4 separate regions of the Homo sapiens genome follow, and all the other regions are linked to region 4. The links are contacts of gene promoters, found by promoter capture Hi-C in blood cells and fetal thymus (Javierre and others, 2016). All regions are on one chromosome and are shown on one strand. Each heading gives the region's core, a stretch centred on a gene start or on the middle of the fragment in contact. The rest is flanking DNA. Distances are from core to core; before and after follow the strand shown. Region 1 has its middle 19 kb from the start of ZNF175. Region 2 has its middle 2.7 kb from the start of SIGLEC6. Region 3 overlaps ETFB (electron transfer flavoprotein subunit beta). Region 4 holds the start of SIGLEC8 (sialic acid binding Ig like lectin 8).

What was found. The method cuts DNA at HindIII sites, captures the fragments that hold promoters and counts their contacts. A CHiCAGO score of 5 or more calls a contact.
Region 1: a contact is called between a fragment that was not itself captured here and the fragment with the promoter of SIGLEC8 in region 4, in 2 of 17 cell types (megakaryocytes and monocytes). The highest score is 6.8, in megakaryocytes.
Region 2: a fragment that was not itself captured here is called in contact with the fragment with the promoter of SIGLEC8 in region 4 in 1 of 17 cell types (monocytes); the score reaches 5.7 in monocytes.
Region 3: a fragment that was not itself captured here is called in contact with the fragment with the promoter of SIGLEC8 in region 4 in 1 of 17 cell types (total B cells); the score reaches 5.4 in total B cells.

Annotation. Positions count from the first base shown.
Region 1 is chr19:51,550,612-51,553,652 of GRCh38, forward strand. No RefSeq gene overlaps it. Among named protein-coding and RNA genes, the nearest start is that of ZNF175, 19 kb to the right of the region's middle. The HindIII fragment of the contact is 3,960 bases long and covers 1-3,041 here.
Region 2 is chr19:51,533,026-51,535,725 of GRCh38, forward strand. No RefSeq gene overlaps it. Among named protein-coding and RNA genes, the nearest start is that of SIGLEC6, 2.7 kb to the left of the region's middle. The HindIII fragment of the contact is 1,070 bases long and covers 807-1,876 here.
Region 3 is chr19:51,345,927-51,348,739 of GRCh38, forward strand. It overlaps ETFB (electron transfer flavoprotein subunit beta), which reads right to left. Exons shown (of 6, transcript NM_001985.3): 5 at 974-1,132. Among named protein-coding and RNA genes, the nearest start is that of VSIG10L, 5.2 kb to the left of the region's middle. The HindIII fragment of the contact is 7,447 bases long and covers 1-2,813 here.
Region 4 is chr19:51,456,893-51,459,986 of GRCh38, forward strand. SIGLEC8 (sialic acid binding Ig like lectin 8) reads right to left here and starts at 1,562. Exons shown (of 7, transcript NM_014442.3): 1 at 1,042-1,562; 2 at 569-847; 3 at 292-339. The coding sequence starts at 1,495. The HindIII fragment of the contact is 20,005 bases long and covers 1-3,094 here.

The DNA.
Region 1 (3,041 bases), core at 171-2,670, 94 kb after region 4:
TCTACACCTGGCTAATTTTTGTATTTTTAGTAGAGATGGAGTTTCACCATGTTGGCCAGGCTGGTCTAGAACTGCTGACCTCAGGTGATCCACCCACCTCGGCCTCCCAAAGTGCTAGGATTACAGGCATGAGCCACTGCGCCCAGCCTTCTTCCAAGTTTTGACAGGGCTTATTTGTGGCCACAGGGGGATTATGGTGTCTGTGGGCCCCCTCTGGGATCCAAAGGTGGGTGTGGACTGGATTAAAGTCAGTCCAGAAAACCCATGGATTGGACTGGAGAATGAAGCTGGGCACAGAATGCAAAGGTTCCCTCTTCACCGTCACTGACTGAAAGGTGAGAGCACAGCCGGCTGATTCTCATGGGACTGCTGCCGGGAAGCAAGCTGTGGCTGCAGCCCGACTGAGCAACCTCTTCCTCAGGCCTCTGCTGCCCTCACAGCTGGGGCAATGGCAGCAGCGGAAAAGGATGTTCTACATTCCGCTGACACCATCTGATTTGTTGGGAGCCGAAAAGGCCAAAGAGATCGTGACCAACTCAGCATTCCACTGGAGGCTATATGATCAAACAGCAAACTGTTTATCATGAATACAGGATGTGAGCAAACTCACGACTGCACCTGCCGCCAGAAGGTTTGCTGAGGGCGGTCACTCCCTGGCGCCGGCTCCTTGAAGTTATCTTCTGGGACATCTAGGGCCTACTGTTCAAGGAATACAGTCTTGCAAGCCTACTCTAGATGGAGCAGCTGACCTCTTCTTCCACCCCTCCTTCTCGCTATCTCTTTTGCCTAATAAATATGGAGGGCTGTGTAAAGTTCAGGGCCCTTGTCCACTAGAGGCAAGGTGCCCCCTGACCCCTTCTTCCAAACACATTCTTTTGTTCTCTTGTCTTTGTTCCCGCGTTCGTCCCCCTTTGTTCAGTCCCCCAAGGTCCGTGCAGTTTACAAGCGGTGCCCCGAACAGTGACAGGATTGGGCAGTCTACAAGTAGCACCCCAAACAGTGAGAGAACTAGGCTGTCTTCACTGATTAGCCTCTCCCACTTGGAAGTGGGCACAACCTTGGAGTGATAGATTCTCTTCCTGGATTGAATGTATTGTTCCTCTCCCAAATTTCTGCCTTCAGCAAACGCTACTTTTGCCCTCAGACCACTACAGGGGAAATGAAAGCTGAGCTCTCCTCTCCCCTGACCACAGCAGGGTGGGACCTTCCTTCCTCCTCTTCCTCACCACCTGAAGACCAACCCCCACTTCCCTCAAGAGAGATGTGGAGTTTCTGGGTCTGTTTTCCCCAGTTGCTTTTCTTGGAGCCCCTTGCATAGGGTCATAGGAGAGTGAGACTGAGACTCTCCTAAAATGGAACCCTCTCTGTCCTCAGCTCCAGCCGTGGCTCCAGCTCTGGCTCCAGACTTAGGTGAGCTCTTTGGGTTCAGGGTGAGGCAGAAAGAACTTGTCCTGTGTCTCTCCTCCTACTCTCACTTCCTGTGGGCCCTGCCTGCACATATACATACACAGTCTCTTCACTTTGACTTTTCCACAGTTTTCCAGCCTCTACAACTCCTCCCCTCTGTGGAGTGACCAGCAAATATTCCTCTCCTGGCCTCTCTCTCTCTTGAAATGAATAGCCTGCTAGGTCTCCCATGGACAGCTCCCCATCTCTGAGCTCACGGGACTCTTTTTTCAATCTAAGTAAGATCCCTTGTGTGCCTAAACACTTTGAATGTCTTCCATCACTTCCAAAGACCATGCTTCCATCAGCTGCCTGATATTCTGTTCCTCCATTTAGCCTACAGATCCTGAAGCATATATACATAATATATATATTATATATATGATATATGACATATATATATATATGTAATCTTTTAGGATTGGGCACAAAGCTAAAGACTGAAAAGGACCATGAGTCTTGTTCTTTGTCCTCCAGAGCTCCAATTGGGTACGAGTACCAGTCGGAGGTGGTACAGAGGTGAGAGGAGTAGGGAAGAAGAGGGAGAGGGGAAGAGACACAGATTGAGACAGAGAGAGAGAGAGGGAGAGAGAAAAAGAGAGAAGAGGAAGAGAGGGAGAGGGGAAAGAGATAGAGAAAGAGAGAGACAGACAGACAGAGAGAGAGAGAGAGAGAAAGTTTTCCTTCAACAGGAACATTCCCTTTGCCCTCAGACAAGGCAAAGGGGGAAAGAAAGAGACTAGAAACAGACTGAGACAGAAAGAAAGGTAGAGAGGCAGGAAAAAGGGAGACAGGGAGAGAAAGACAGAAGAGGGGAAAGGGGAAGAAGGTGAAAAGAGACATAGACTGAGATAGACGAAGAAGCAGGGAAGAGAGAGAGAAAGGGGTAGGAGAGAGGGAGAGAGACAGAGAAAGATGAGCAGGAGGAAGAGGAGGGGGGGAGGAGAAGGAGGAGGAGGAGGGGGAGGGGAGGAAGAGGAGGGGGAGGAGAAGGAGGAGGAGGGAGAGGGGGAGGCGAAGGGAGTTTATCACAATTAGACAGGGATTCCTGAAGGCCCCGGGGGTGGAGTCTGTCCTAAGAGGCAAGAAACCAGGGATATGTGCAGATTCCCTCTCTGAGTGATCTAAGGGCCCATCTCCTGGGCGTGACCGAGAGCCCGAGAAGGGCAGACACAGACTGGGAGGTTTTCCTATCCTGCGCCGTTCTCTCCCATGTCTACCATCAGGGACCGCGCAAAGAGGCTGGTGGCTCTCGCTGCACATCCAGACACGTTTTGGTCCTGGCGAGCCACAGGCATCAGGGAGAGTGGCGCTGTCCCTGGTGCTGAAGCAGGACTGTGTCCCTGGTTTAGGAATGACTGGGCTATGCAGAGGAGTCTGACTAGATAGGATCCAGATCGGGGTCTCCAGCCGGCAAAACAGCTGAGTCACAGGATTGGGCCGCCCAAGAGGGAGGAAGTTAAGGAGGGGCCGACTGTGGGTCTGTATGGGCTGGACTTCCCTCTGTGCCCCTCCCGGCTCCTTCTTTACCCCAGGAATGTTTTGGGTCAAAGCCAGCAGCAGCTCATCTGTAGACCTCTTGTTGCATGAAAAAA
Region 2 (2,700 bases), core at 92-2,591, 76 kb after region 4:
TTTCCAGTCTCTGTTGTCTATCTTTCTACTGTCCACCTCCATGTGATAATATTTTTTTAGCTCCCACATGTAAGTGAGAACATGCAACATTTGTCTTTTTGTGTCTGACTTATTTCAATTTAGATAATGAATTCTAGTCCCATCCATGTTGCTGCAAATGACACGATTTCATTCTTTTTTATGGCCAAATAGCATGTATACTATATTTTCTTTATCCATTCATCTGTTAATTGACACTTAGGTTGGTTCCATATCTCTGATATTGTGAATAGTGCAGCAAAAATCATGTGAATGCAGGTATCTCTTTGATGTATTTCTTTCTTTCCCTTCGGGTAGATACCCAGTAGTGGGATTGCTTGAGTGATCGAATAGTAATTCTATTTTTAGTTCCTGAGAAATGTCCATAGTGTTTTCAAAAGTGGCTGTACTAGTTTAAATTCCCACCAACAGTACAGAAGAGTTATCTTTCTCCTCATCCTTGCCAAAATCTGTTATTTTTTGTTTTTTTAGTAATAGTCATTCTGACTGGGTAAGACGGTATCTCATTTTGGTTTAGATGTGCACTTCTCTGATGATTAGTGACGCTGACCATTTTGTCGTATTGGCTGTTCTTATGTATTCTTTGAGAACTGTCTATTCCTGTCCTTTGCCCACTTTTTACTTGGATTATTTGCTTTTTCCTGTTGAGTTGTTTGAGTTCCTTGTATAGTCTGGATATTAGTCTCCTGTCAGAAGAATAGTTTGCGAATATTTTCTCCAATTCAACAGGTTGTTTCTTCACTCTAATTATTTCTTTTCCTGGCAGAAGCTTTTTGTTTATTAAGTCCCATTTGTTTATTTTTGTTTTTGTTGCCTGTGCTTTTCAGAACTTAGTCATAATTTCTGACTCTTCTGACCAATGTTCAAAAGAGTTTTCCCTAGGTTTTCTTGTAGCTGTTTTTTTTTTTTATAGTTTTGGGTCTTACATTTAAGTGTATGATTCATTTTGAGTTTTTTTTTAATATGGTGAGAGAGAAGAATCCAGTTTCATTCTTTTGTGTGTGGGTATACAATTTTCCCAGCACCATTTATTGAAGAAGGTGTCCTTTCCTCAATATAAGTTCTTGTCAGTTTTGTTGACAATCAATTGGCTGTATACATGTGGCCTTATTTCTGGGTTATATTCCATTGGTCTATGTATCTATTTCTATACCAATATCATGCTGTTTTGGTTATTATAGCCTTGTAATATACTTTGAAGTCAGGTAAAGTGATACCACCAGCTTTGTTCTTTTTTCTCCGGATAGCTTTGGCTATTCAGGTTCTTTTTGGATCCATATGAATTTTATAATTGTTTTTTACAATTCTGTGAAGACTGACATTGGTATTTTCATATGGATTACATTAAATCTTTAGATTGCTATAGACCAGTGTGGGCTTCTTAACTATCTTAATTCTTCCAGTCATGAGTATGGGATGTTTTTCCATTTGTTTGTGTCATCTTCAATTTCTTTCATCAGTGTTTTTTAGTTTTTCCTGTATAGATTTTCACCTGGTAGGTCATTAAGAGCATATTGTTTAATTTCCATACATTTGTCTTGTTTCCAGAGTTCCTCTTGGTGCTGACTTGTTGTTTTGTTCCATTGTGGTCTGAGTATACATTGAGTAAATATTGATTTTTTTTTTAATTTATAGAGACTTATTTCGTAGCCGAATATATGGTGTATCCTGGAGAATGTTTCATGTACTGATGAAAAGAATATGTATTCTGCAGTTGTTGGGTAGAAGTTCTGTAAAAGTCTGTTAGTTCCATTTGGTCTATAGTGTAGTTTAAATGTGATGTTTGTTTGTTGATTTTCTGTCTAAGTGATCTGTCTTACTGAGAATAGGGTGGTGAAGCTTCCCACCATTATTGTATTGCATTCTATCTCTCTCTTTAGATCTAGTAATATTTGCTTTATAGATATGGCTGCTCCATTGCTGGGTGCATATATATTTAGAATTGTTATATCCTCTTGCTGGGTTGATCCCTTCATCATTATATAATGACCTTCTTTGTCTTTTTCTACTGCTCTTGACCTAAGGTCTGTTTTATCTAAGTATAGTTACTGCTGCTTACTATTGGTTTCCATTTGTGTGGAATATCTTTCTCCATCCTTTTACTTTTGGTCTATATGTGTCTTTTCTTAAGGTGTGTTTCTTTAAGCTGCACACTGTTGAGTCATTTTTAAAATCCATTCAGCCATTCTATATCTTTTAAGAGGATACTTTAATCCATTTACATACATGGTTATTATTGATTTGTGAGGCTTTCTTTCTGTCAGGTTATTAAACATTTTCTTGTTTTAAACATTCGTTGTTTCTTTCCTTTTATCTTATTGTTTGTCCTTGTGATTTGGTGGATTTCTGTAGTGGTACCATTTGAGTCCTTTCTAGTTCTCATTTGCATGATTGCTTTACCAGTGAATTTTTTACTTTCATATGTTTTCGTGATGATAAAATCATCCTTTTGCTTCCAGGTTTAGGACTCCTTTGAGTATTTTTTCCAAGGCTGGTCTAGTGGTAATAAATTTCATCAGCATTTGTTTGTCTTGGGATGAATCTATTTCTCTTTTATTTATGAAGAATAGTTTCTTTGCATGTTCTGTGGTGGCAGTTATTTTTTCTTTTAGCACTTAGAATATATCAGTTCCTTCTTTTCTGGTGTGTAAGGTTTCTACT
Region 3 (2,813 bases), core at 28-2,527, 110 kb before region 4:
GAACCCTCCCTATAGACTGAGATGATGCGCAGAACCCTCCCTATAGGCTGAGATGATGCGCTGAACCCTCCCTATAGGCTGAGATGATGCGCTGAACCCTCCCTATAGGCTGAGATGATGCGCTGAACCCTGCCTATAGACTGAGATGATGCGCTGAACCCTCCCTATAGGCTGAGATGATGCGCAGAACCCTCCCTATAGGTTGAGATGATGCGCTGAACCCTCCCTATAGACTGAGATGATGTGCTGAACCCTCCCTATAGACTGAGATGATGCGCAGAACCCTCCCTATAGGTTGAGATGATGCGCTGAACCCTCCCTATAGGCTGAGATGATGCGCTGAACCCTCCCTATAGGCTGAGATGATGTAGTGAACACTCTGTAATGGCTGAAATGACTCATTGAACCCTCCCCATTAGTTGAGATGATCCAGTGAACCCTCCCTGTTGGCTGAGATGAATATTCTCTATTGGCGGAGATGACCCACTAAACTGTTAATATTGGCCAAGATGACCCAGCGAACCCATCTACTGGCCATGATGATTAGTGAACTCTACCTGTTAGCCAAGAGACCCCATGCACCCTTCCTAGTTAACTAAGATGATCTACATGGTAACTTCACATTGGCAAAAATTACCAAGGGGACCCTCCCTAATGAACCTAGATGACCCAGTGAACTTGTTCCACTGGCTGGAATGACAAAGGGAACACCTTCTGCTGCCCAGCGAAGGCTTTCTACTGGCCTAGATACCAGCAAGCCCTCCCTGCTAGCCAAAGCAGCCCCCATGAACTCTCAGTATTGGCAGAGATGACCCAGCAAACTCTCTCTATCAGCCAAACTCCAGGTGACGGCTTCCTGTGCACGAGACCTCCTTTGGATCCTTCCCTCCCCACGTGCGACCACCGGGGGGCACTGGGCTGGCAATGTGCTTGCCACCCCCAGGCCCTCAGTGCCCGCTGGCCAGGGGCTCACCATGATGTTGGGCAGCGTGGCGTAGCGGGGCTCGTTGAGCCTCAGGTCAGCTGTCACCACAGCTGGCAGCTTCAGGCGCAGGGTCTCCAGGCCCCCATCGATCTCCCGCTCCACTTTCAACTTGTCCCCCTCCAGCGTCACCTGGGAGGCGAATGTGCCCTGGGGAGGGACAGTGTAGGAGGAGAGTGGGTGAGGCTAATTCAGGTCCGACCCGAGCAGTCTGCTTATGCCACTACTGAGTACACGCATGGACTAGTGAATGAATGAGGGAGCGAACAATGCAGGGTCCCATGAGGTTTAGAATCGAGCTTGTACACCTGGGAGAGGGTCTTTTTCCTTTCCCTGAGAGCCACGGTGTATGTCCTGATGTCCCATGTCCTGATGCTGCCAGTGAGGCCTCCCTGCCTTCCTGACAGGGAACATGTACTGAGTGCTGAGCCCTGTGCTAAGCAACTGATGTATCAAGTCATCGAATCCTCGCAGGAACTTTATGAGGTAAATGTTATTATCCCCACTTTACAGATGAGAGAAACTGAGGCAGCAAGATGCTGAGTTACACGCCCACTGCCACCCACAGCTGGTAAATCCAAAAGCTGACAATCTGGCTCCCAACGGCCCCCCGTGAGGCCCCTCCGCTGGGCAGACAACAGAACTGTGTGTGTCCACACCAGTCCTTAAACCACCTTCTGGGACCCCGTCCTCTAGCCAGGTCCCTTTGCCTCTCAGTCCTGAATCAACATTTCCTCCCCTGGTAACTGATGCCACCTACACTCCTCTTTGTCTAACGACCTTTGTCCCTGTCCACTTATTAACTGGACACATTTTTCAGGTCTTAGTGTGAACATCACCTCCCTTCATTCACAACCTCCTCCTAGTGCCCTTATGAACCTGCCCCTGGAGACACACTGTGAACACGACCAGTGAAGCACCAGCTTGGGTGGGCTCATATTCTGCCAGGGAAGACAACCAGTCACCAGGGAAAAACACACACACACAAATGAGATCATTTCCAATCAGAAGGAATAAGAAGAAAATAAGACACATGATATGAGAGCAAGAAGGGCGCACGTTGGAGAAGCTAGTCAGACAGTGGTAAATGCTTTGAAGATAAAACAGGATAATGGTTTTGAATGTGTTGTCCCATCCAGTAGCCACTGGCTGCGTGTGGCTGTCCAGCCAGTGCAGCTGAGGAATGAATTTTTACATTTTATTTAAATTTAAATACTGATAATTTGGCCAGGCGCAGTGGTTCATGCCTGTAATCCCAGCACTTTGAGGGGCCAAGGCGGGTGGATCACTTGAGGTCAGGAGTTCAAGACCAGCCTGGCCAACATGGCGAAACCCTGTCTCTACTAAAAATACAAAAATTATCCAGGTATGGTGATGCACGCTTGTAATCCGATCTACTCGGGAGGCTGAGGCAGGAGAATCGCTTAAATTCGGGAGGCGGAGGCTGCAGTGAGCCAAGATCGCGCCACTGCACTCCAGTCTGGGGACAGAACAAGACTCCACCTCAAAAAAATAAAAATAAATAAATACTGAGAATTCAAGACACATTATCATGATTGTGGTGATGATTTCATGGATGTAACACATATCAAAACTTAAATTTTGGAGGGCTGAGGTGAGCAGCTTGCTTGAGCCCAGGAGTTAAAGACCAGCTTGGGCAACATAGTGAGACCCCCATCTCTATCTAAATAAAAGAGTTTAAGAAAAGCAAACTTAACAAATTGTGCAACTTAGATATGTGCGGTTTATTGTAGGTAAATAACTCAACGAAGCTGTTTAAAAAAAAAACAAAAACAAACAAACAAACAAACAAAAAAACACAGATACCCAA
Region 4 (3,094 bases), core at 312-2,811:
AACGAACAAAAACCAAAAAAATTGGGAGTCTGATCCAGCTGTGTGAATGTCACCCTGTCCTTGCTGTGGGGCCAAGGAAGGGGTGTGTGGAGGAGTCTAAGGGGAGCAGGGACAGGATGGGGACAGGGGCTCAGATGGTCACGCGGGCTGGAGATGTGGGCTCTTGTGCCCTGGGCTCACGCACAGTGGCAGCTCTGTTTCCCAAAGTGATTCCAGGATGAGGAGAGACCCAGCCCCATCCTGAGCTGAAGGCCCTGCTCCCCCAACCCCAGGGAGGGGGCTCTGTCCTACCTGTGGCATCTCCTTGGAAGACAGTCATGGTCAAGTTCCAAGGAGGGTCTGGGACAGAAAGACATGAAGACCCACATTACTATAAGGACTGGGGACATTGGCCCTGTCTTCCCAGGAGCTGCAAATACAGGGAAAATGGAGTCGGCATTCTCCTGACCCCACTCCCAGCCCAGATTCTGGGACCCAGAACCCAGTGTCCAGGCTTGAACCCCATCCCCTGCCCTCAGGAACACCTCCCAACCCATGAGGGACCTGGGCATCTTGGTCCAGCACTCACAGGACACATCGAGGCGGACGGTACTGGTCGTGGTCACACCTGTCCCAGGCAAGGTCACCTGACAGGTGAGGCTGGTGCCGTGGTCCTGGGGCTTTGGGGTAAGGGTGAGCACTGAGGAGCGGGCAGTAGTGGGGCCCGGGGAGGACACGGAGGCCCCAATCCAGGAGATCATGGGGGGTGTCCCCTGCTTACAGGCCCAGGGCACAGAGCAGGTCAGGTTCCTGGAGTGGCCAGACTCTAGGGTCCCTAGGATGAGGATGTCAGGCCTATGGGTCAGGGCTGGTGAAGATGGGGACACAGGATCAGGAGGAGGTATTTCAGGTGCAGCCCTGGAGGAAGCTCAAGCTCTGGTCCAGCTCCTCCCCGGAGACCGACTTATTTCAATCCCAACCCCCTCCCAGGCCCCATCCCAGCCCTGCCTTTCAGCCCCTCATGACCTTCCCCTGTGGCCTGTGCTGGAGCCCGTGCCTTACCTGTCACAAACACAGACAGCTGCTTAGTTTTGTAATTCAACTGTGATTTGTAACTCCATTTCATGCTTCCTCTCTCTAGCCGAAAGAAATATGACCCCTTATCCCTCTTCCTGGCGTCTCTGATGCTCAGGGAGCAGTCGTTGCTCCAAATGTCCCCAAGGAGTTGGAATCGGCCCTGGGTCTCTGCCTGCACTTCTCTGTCTGGGTTGTTTGTGGCCACTGGAGCGTCTTGGTATGGTCTGTCTCCTGCCCGGAACCAGTAGCCATGAACTGGGTCAGAGTCAGTCCAGCCATCCTGGGGGTAGGAGAAGGAGCAGGGCACATGGACACACAGGCCCTCCTGCACCGTCACCAGCTCCTGCACTTGCAGCAAGTAACCATCCCCATATTGTCTGTCTCCCTCCATCCCCTTTGTCCCCCAGAGCAGGGGCAGCAGCAGCAGCAGCAGCAGCATGTCTGGGTTTGAAGGCGCCAGGGCCGCCAGGGAACGTCTGTTCCTCAGGGTTCTTCTCTCAGAAACTGAGGTCTCAAGACTTAGGGGAGGTCCCGCAGGAGGTTGGGGGTGAAGTCAGAAAAGTGACCTCCTCAGAGGAGGAACTTCACACACAGACACTGTCAGGGCCGGGTCAGTCCTGGGAGATCCACTGTCCACCACCCCATTTCCACTCCTGGGAACCCTGAGGCCAGAGAGGGTGAGAAACTCATCCAGATTCCCACCCTATGCAGGGCCCAACCTCTTTCTTGCTTCCCGGACTTGCCCTTCCATTTGGGTAACATTTTCTGCAAGGTGAAATTGGGTCCCATCTGGCCAGACCCCTGAATCACCCCCGGGGCTGTCACTGTTTGTGGAGGTCATACCAGCCAAAGGTGGAACTCAGGGCCATGAGAGACTGGGGTGCAGGTGAGGTGAGCAGGCAGCCTCTCCTCCCTCTCTCAGCAGCAACGAAGTGGGCACCTCCTCTTTACACAACGAGGTCAACAGAGCAGAGCCAGACACTGTCCTCAAGGAGTCACTGTGCAGAGGGGAGACACGGAGGCTCCTGACGTCTGAGCTCCCCAGGACGGGAGCTTCAGTGGGGGGCACAGGCAAGGTGGGGTCGTTCTCCCCTAGGTCAGGGGTTCAGTCTCAGGAGGCCTGAGCAGAGGGACACGGGGCTGTGGAGGTGAGGATTCTGCATGTTGATACACACGAAGGACGGGGGGCGGGGGGAAGCCTGGCTCGCAGGAGGCCTGGGAAACTGAGGCTGTAACTGTTGTACTGTGGGGTTTGGAAGGGAGAAATGTCAGAAGGGAAAGGGTCAATTTGAAAAGGGCACACACTTCTCCCTTTGTTGCAGCTATCTGGGTATCAGAATGGGTTTCTTCACCACCCGTATCTTACTCAGCCACACTTCCCCTGGTTACTGCACAGCAGGCGGGGTCTGTCAGCCCTGGGGCTTTGCTCCTGCAGGCTCTGCTTCCAGGGGTCCAGGTGAACAGGTGTCATGGAACGAGGACACCAGCCCTGGGGTGTGCACCTTCAGCGATGGGCAGGATTTCTTGAGAGAAGAAATGTGCACCTGAATTCAACAGATGATGATGATGATGATGATGATGATGATGATTATTATTATTATTATTATTATTATTATTTGAGACGGAGTCTCTCTCTGTCGCCAGGCTGGAGTGCAGTGGCGCGATCCCGGCTCACTGCAACCTCTGACTCCCTGGTTCAAGCGATTCTCCTGCCTCAGCCTCCCAAGTAGCTAGGATTACAGGCATACGCCACCACATCCAGCTAATTTTTGTATTTTTAGTAGAGCCGGGGTTTCACCATGTCGACCAGGATGGTCTGGATCTCCTGACCTCATGATCCACCCACCTCAGCCTCCCAAAGTGCTGGGATTACAGGTGTGAGCCACCGTGCCTGGCCTCAACAGATTATTTTAAACTGTGTGGCTGGGGGCTGGGAAGAAGTTAAGGGGGATCCTGGGAGGCGGAGCCTCCTTAGACTCAGGTCAATTTTCTTGAAACATTTTTTGGGGGGTAAATATAAGAAATATAGATAAAAACA